Linked DNA regions of Homo sapiens: region 1 is linked to region 2. The links are contacts of gene promoters, found by promoter capture Hi-C in blood cells and fetal thymus (Javierre and others, 2016). All regions are on one chromosome and are shown on one strand. Each heading gives the region's core, a stretch centred on a gene start or on the middle of the fragment in contact. The rest is flanking DNA. Distances are from core to core; before and after follow the strand shown.

Region 1 (3,568 bases), core at 50-2,549, 380 kb after region 2:
TTCTGAATAAGTCCACTTTCTCCGATTATTTCTTTCCTTTGGTTTCCTCTTATTATAATAGTTTTATATTACAACCTGCATTGATATGTTGACTTACAGATTCCCCACTCTCCACCAGCTGTAAGACTGACCTCTCTCACAAGACCCAGAAGCTTCCTGAAGGTGGGACCCTCCCCCAGTCTTCTTCCTCAGAGGTTGTCCTGTCTGTACACAGGACATGCCTCTGCTAATGATATTAATGCTCCCCACTGAAGCAGCCCTCATGGTATAACTATTGGGATATTATATCAAACAACCATGAGGAACACAATCTTATTCTGTCAATTTTCAAATTGCCACCTGCCTTGAACTTGGCACTGAATCTCCCCAAGATTACAAATTCAGTTTCATGACTTCAAAGTGTTACAAAACAAAACAAAAAAACAAGTACAGTCACCAAAGGAATTTATCTCCTTCATTCATGGTAGATAAATACTATTCTCTTTGAAGACATTTTAGGATGAGAAGCTCCATTTTGTTTCCTATTTGTACAATTAATCCCACATTCTCAGGTCATGACTTGATTTTCCAAAATGAAAATCAATTCCAGAGCCAAGAGTAATCTTGGTCCCTATCAGTCCTAACTCTTATCAACATGTTTTGGAAGGTCTCTAGGAATGGAGAAGTTATTTATGAGTCGCTTTCAACAGTTTGGCAAATACTTCCTTAGATTAACCTCACTCTCAAATGCTGACTCTTTACTTCCTCTAGTTTAGCCCTGTGTGGTTAGAGAGAAAAACGTGGTCTACCACTCCCTTTTATCTCCTACATATTGCTCAGGATACTAGCCTTATGTATGTATGTATGTATGTATGTATGTATGTATGTATGTATGTATGTATTTATTTGAGATGGAGTCTCATTCTGTCGCCTAGGCTGGAGTGAAGTGGCGCAATCTTCACTCACTGCAACCTCCACCTCCTGGGTTCAAGCAAATTCTCCTGCCTCAGCCTCCCGGGAAGCTGGGACTACAGGCTTGTGCCACCACGCCTGGCTAATTTTTTGTATTTTTAGTAGAGATGGGGTTTCACCGTGTAAGCCAGAATGGTCTCGATCTCCTGACCTCGTGATCCACCCACCTTGGCCTCCCAAAGTGCTGGGATTACAGGCGTGAGCCACCGCTCCCAGGTAGCCGGGGTTTGCCATTTATTCATTCTATCCCTTAGCCTCAAGGTGCTAATCAATCAAGATAAAAACAAAGCACTTAGGCAGCGCCTGACACATAGCAGGTACCCAACAATGTTAGTTCCCTTTCTCTCCCTTCTTTCTCGCAACACCATACATGTTCCTCGGCCTTTCTGGGCATTTTTTACTGGTTAAAGATGGTACTGAACCAAACAAACTAATCTTCTTTTGTAGCTCTAACATTCTGTGACTCTAATTCGCATATTCTCGTTTGTTCTTCTATGCACTGCCATCATTTGGATCTAAAATGAGTGGCAGAGGAATACTACTAGTCTCTAGGTTGACTTAGCATACCTAAAACCACTTGCAGGAGTTTTGAAATTCAAACAATACAAATAACTGTTTAATGTGATGCATCCATGTCATTCCTCCTTATTCTTGAATTACTCTCTTGAACTATGTAGATAACAGTGTTAAGTAAATGTCCTTACATATTGCTTAACATATTTGCCCATCTTTTCTAGTTTCCCTACAGAAAATGTCTTCATAGTATCCTAGGGGTTCTTGGCCCATCCTCCAACCCTAAAGGTAAGACTACTGTAATTAAGGGGAATTCTTTACTCAGTATTGGTGCTTTAATGGGGTCTTCCTGAAATGAACTGTGAATCTCTAAGAAAATTATCCTATAAATTTCACTAACTCAACCATAATTTTTCCTTCCATCCTGTATCCCTCTCTTCTTTATAAGCAATTATATCCAAGCTGGGCGCGGTGGCTCACTTTGGGAGGCCGAGCACTTTGGGAGGCCGAGGCGGGTGGATCACAAGGTCAGGAGTTCAAGACCAGCCTGGCCAGCATGGTGAAACCCTGTCACTACTAAAAATACAAAAAATTAGCTGGGCATGGTGGCACGCACCTGTAATCCCAGCTACTTGGGAGGCTGAGACAGGAGAATTGCTGGAACCTGGGAGGTGGAGGCTGCAGTGAGCCGAGATCACACCACTGCACTCCAAGAAGAGCAAGTCCATCTCAAAAATAAATAAATAAATAAATAAATAAATAAATAAATAAATAAAAATAAGGAATTATACCCCAAGTCTCTTTCTGCAGCCCAGCTACCAGACTCTTCTAGTTCTCCCTTCTTACCCTTATTTCCACCTCTTATATTGCTTCATTTTCTGAGACTTTTGGTCCCCTAACAGAAATTATAAATATTAACACTAGTATAAGGCCAAACTAAAAAGTTCCAGACTTTAAAAAAGGGACCAGGCTACTAAGCTTTCTTTAGGTCTTTGAATTCAGCCTGTTTTCTCCAGGTCCAAATGCATTCAAAATTGCATTAGCCTTGGTGAGGAGGGTCATCTACAAGCTGATCCTCACCAAGGGTGTCCCTCATTAGGCACTATTGTAGTTCTGAGACTGAGGAGGGAGAAGGATCCCCTCCTAGAGAGTCCATCAGATAGGCCCCTTAGGTAGAGAAAAGACATCCTCCAAGACTCAGACTTTGTTCTTTACTTAGCTCTGACTGCTATATGGTGGACTTCTTAAAGGTTTCTTCATGCTGCCTCCCTCAGGGTTGGTTTGGCCTGGATAAAATGCCCTTCATTCCTTTAGAGCTGTCAATACTATCTGTAGTTTACAAACATGCCAGAGCAAGATATCAAAAAGTCCATCCATTTACAGGTCCTAGAGAACCTGGGTCTAAGTAAATTTATTTCATGGCTATACCTTCTTATTCCACAGAAGTATGCTGTAGCTGAAGGTTGCAAATTGAGAATGGTCCACTAACAAACTACCCACTTAGAGGGTATGAAAGACAAACTCAGTATCAGTCTCTTTCTCTCAGCCTTGGAGTACTAATTTTTTGAGATAAGAGATATGAGAGAAATCCAGTGGTCAAAGTGTTTTGGCACCCCAGTGATTAATCACCAGGACATTAAAGCAACTCTTATCTGCTTTCTCTTAGATACCAGAGAGCCCTCTTCTCACCAAGCTTTACTTCCCACAGACACCATCTGCAACTGAGCTTAGAAATGTCATCAGCAAAAGCAACAATCTCAGGATATGGAAGAAGAGGATAAAAAGGTGAAGGTTGAAAGAGGGGAAGCAGGAAGACAGAAAGATGACTCCCTGCCTTTCCTGGCCAGGGTACAAAATAATCTTTTGTACCCTACATAACACAAATGAAAAGCTCCTTTCATAGCTCCTAGCAATAAGAAAGTATGGTTAGTTTACTTTCTCCTTCACTTTCCACTACAGTAGGTTGAGGATCCAGATAGACATTTGTCTTCTGAATTGACTCTCATTACCTTTCAAAACAATGAAATAGCAGTAACTCTAAATACCTGGTAGGGTTAAGCAATCAATACCGATGGTAGGCCTAAATTATTCCAGTTGAATGGTG
Region 2 (3,242 bases), core at 571-3,070:
ATCTCACGAGGGCACTGACCTTCCAGCGTGTTCTGGGGAGTATCAGCTGCTATTCCCAGGAGAGGCACAAAGTCCCAGGTAGAAGGGAGGAGCTGTCCCCAGCAGCCTGGGGTCTCTAGCCCCGGTCCACCATCACAGCACCCTTGGAGTGAGTGTCAGGGAGTGTGGGATATTTGCCCAAGTCCAGCCACCACCCCTGTCCGAGTAGAGCCCACACAGTATTGGAAAGAGAAATATAGCCACTGCTTTCACTCCTGGGAGTAGGGGTGCCCTGGTTGCTTTCACCAGCCTGCAAGAGTATAGTCAGGGTGAGGTGCTGGAGAACATCAACAACGATCTGGGTTCAAATCCCAGCTTTGCCACTTATTAGCCATGTTGCTGTGTCAACTTCTCTGAGCTTCAGTTTATTCCACTGTTGTGTAAAGATAATGCCTCTTAGGGCTGTTGTGAGCATTAGCACAGTGCCTGGCATATAGTAAATACTCAATATATGGTAGCCATATTATTATAATTGTAATTGTTACTACCACCACTGTCGTCTATTTATTTATTTATTTATTTATTTTTTTGAGACTGAGTCTTGCTCTGTTGCCCAGGCTGGAGTGCAGTGGCACCATCTTGGCTCACTGCAACCTCCGCCTCCCAGGTTCAAGCAATTCTCATGCCTCAGCCTCCTGAGTAGCTGGGATTACAGGTGTGTGCCAAAACATCTGGCTAATTTTTTTTTTTTTTTTTTTTTTGGTAGAGACGGGGTTTCGCCATGTTGGCCAGGCTGGTCTTGAACTCCTGGCCTCAAGTGATCTGCCTGCTTCGGCCTCTGAAAGTGTTGGGATTACAGGCATGAACCACCACGCCTGGCCTGTCATCCCTTCAAATGTTCTTTCAGAACTGAGGCATGCAGAGGCTGGAAGACAGGCTGGGCTCACCGGGGTGGTTATCTCTGAGAGAGGACATGGGTGAGGTCAGAGGCCTCTCCCTGGAGAAGGAGGTAGGTGGAGAAGCCAGATGGCATCCAGATAAGGAAGACCAGCATCTCCTTGAGAGTGTACACGGGAGCACGAGATGGGGAGGGAGGCTGAGTGCTCCTTACAGGCCCACCCTGTTGCCTCCAGGTGTTAGCTGCTGTTGTCCTGGGTCTTCAGTGTTGACCGTCGCATGGCATTTGGGCAGCTGGTTCTGCTGGGTTATGGTCCTCATGTCCCTGGCACAGACACAGCCATTGCCTGCTGGCACTTGATACCTACTCATATTCCATTTCTCTATTCCAAACACACTGGATTGCATGGCCCAGGGCGCCACGGTGTGCACCATTGTCTGGCCCACACTCACCTAGAATACATACCAGGATCTCCTACCCACTCCTTAGGTACAAGAAGAAGAAGGGGTTCTGGCCGGGCATGGTGGCTCACACCTGTAATCCCAGCACTTTGAGAGGCCGAGGTGGGTGGGTCACAAGGTCAGGAGATTGAGACCATCCTGGCTAACACGGTGAAACCCCGTCTCTACTAAAAAACACACACAAAAAAATTAGCTGGGCGTGGTGGCAGGCACCTGTAGTCCCAGCTACTCGGGAGGCTGAGGCAGGAGAATGGCGTGAACTTGGGAGGCGGAGCTTGCAGTGAGCCGAGATTGCGCCATTGCACTCCAGCCTCGGCGATAGAGCAAGACTCCGTCTCAAAAAAAAAAAAAAAAGGGGGGTTCTGGCCTTAATCTGCCTCCAGCTCAGTTATAAGGTGGCTTATCTAAAGGCTTGGGAGGTGGGGCACCCAGCCCTACCCACCCGTCCAGGAAGTTCCACACCTGGACAACTTTCAGTTTCATTATTTTAGCTTCCTGAGATTCAGAGGCCAGGAACTGTGCAGAGATCTGTGGGGATTCTCACAACTTCCATTTCTGGTGAACAGCTGAGGTCAGAGAGGAGGTGGGTACCACTTGAGATGGGCCTGTGGTTCCCGGGTACTGTCTTTCCAGACACCTAGAATTCCCAGGTTGGTAGTGAACTGAGAGTCAACCACCATGATGGGGCCAGAGACAGAGGAGGAAGCAGTGAGTGGATAAGTGCCTGTGCTGGGCAGAAGGGATATAGGGGAAGGTGGCCAAAGGTAGGATGGGGAAGTGGATCCCAGGAAGCTTTTGTTTCTTCTGAGGCCAATTTACCACCACCTCATTGGGAAATTGTTGGTAGGGAGGCACCCATCCAATTGCCTTGCAGAATACAGCAAGGCAGGGAGCCCAAGAATCAGAGCCAAGGGAAGAAACGACCAGTTGAGGTTAGTAATGTGAAGTCTGGCAACCGTGCCCGTCATTCCTCCCTGGTTCCTCTGTTCATCAACGTTGGGGCTAGTCTGGCTGGGGCATGGTGGGCCTGCCTTTCCATCCCTTGGGCCCCTTGGAACAAGGGGGCAACTCTGCTGTGGGAGATGTAGAAAATGGGTCTCACTTTCTCTATTTGGGGCAATAGCTGCTACTTTTTTCCTCCAGATGGGTACCATGAGGGGCAGAGGAGAATCTGGGATCTGTGATGTTTAGCCCTCTTTACTGAGTCATGGCTGCCTCACGTTCTAGAAGTAAGGCAGGCAAATCATTCCAGGTACTGATTGTCCTGGAACCTTTGGCTCTTCCTTGACCTCATGTCACGTGCGTCCATGTGAAGAGAGTCCACGAAACGGGCTTTATATGAGCAACAAGGCTGGGTGCAGGCAAGCTGAGTCCAAAAAAGGGGTCAGCAAAGGGTGGTGGCATTATCATTAGTTCTTATATGTTTGGGATAGGCTTACAAAGTACATTCTCAAGGGTGGAGAAATATTACAAAGTACCTTCTTAAGGGCAGGGGAGAATATTACAAAGTACCTTCTTAAGGGCGGCGGCGGGGAGACTATATTGTATCAGGGTGGGGCAGGAACAAATCACAATGGTGGAATGTCATCAGTTAAGGCTATTTTCATTTCTTTTGTGGATCTTCAGTTGCTTCAGGCCATCTGGATGTATACATGCAGGTCACAGGGAATATGATGGCTTAGCTTGGGTTCAGAGGCCTGACACCTCAGGCTGCCAAATGTGGAAGATTTAAATACTTGAACCAATACCCTCCTCCCAAAAACTGAAATTGGCTTCTGTTTCTGAGTTGGTCCAGGCGCAATGTTCAGCGTATTTGAGGAAATCACAAGAATTGTAGTTAAGGAGATGGATGCTGGAGGGGATATGATTGCCGTTAGAAGCCTTGTTGATGCTGATAGATTCCG

Evidence for each region. The method cuts DNA at HindIII sites, captures the fragments that hold promoters and counts their contacts. A CHiCAGO score of 5 or more calls a contact.
Region 1: a fragment that was not itself captured here is called in contact with the fragment with the promoter of GSDMB in region 2 in 1 of 17 cell types (activated CD4 T cells); the score reaches 6.2 in activated CD4 T cells.

What each region holds. Positions count from the first base shown.
Region 1 is chr17:39,536,218-39,539,785 of GRCh38, reverse strand. It overlaps a transcript of CDK12 not described here. Among named protein-coding and RNA genes, the nearest start is that of NEUROD2, 70 kb to the left of the region's middle. The HindIII fragment of the contact is 2,290 bases long and covers 155-2,444 here.
Region 2 is chr17:39,917,213-39,920,454 of GRCh38, reverse strand. GSDMB (gasdermin B) reads left to right here and starts at 1,820. Exons shown (of 11, transcript NM_001165958.2): 1 at 1,820-1,921; 2 at 3,125-3,242. The coding sequence starts at 3,139. RefSeq lists a cis regulatory region at 1,554-1,567 and promoters at 1,546-1,908, 2,632-3,040, 2,591-3,220. The HindIII fragment of the contact is 7,383 bases long and covers 1-2,132 here.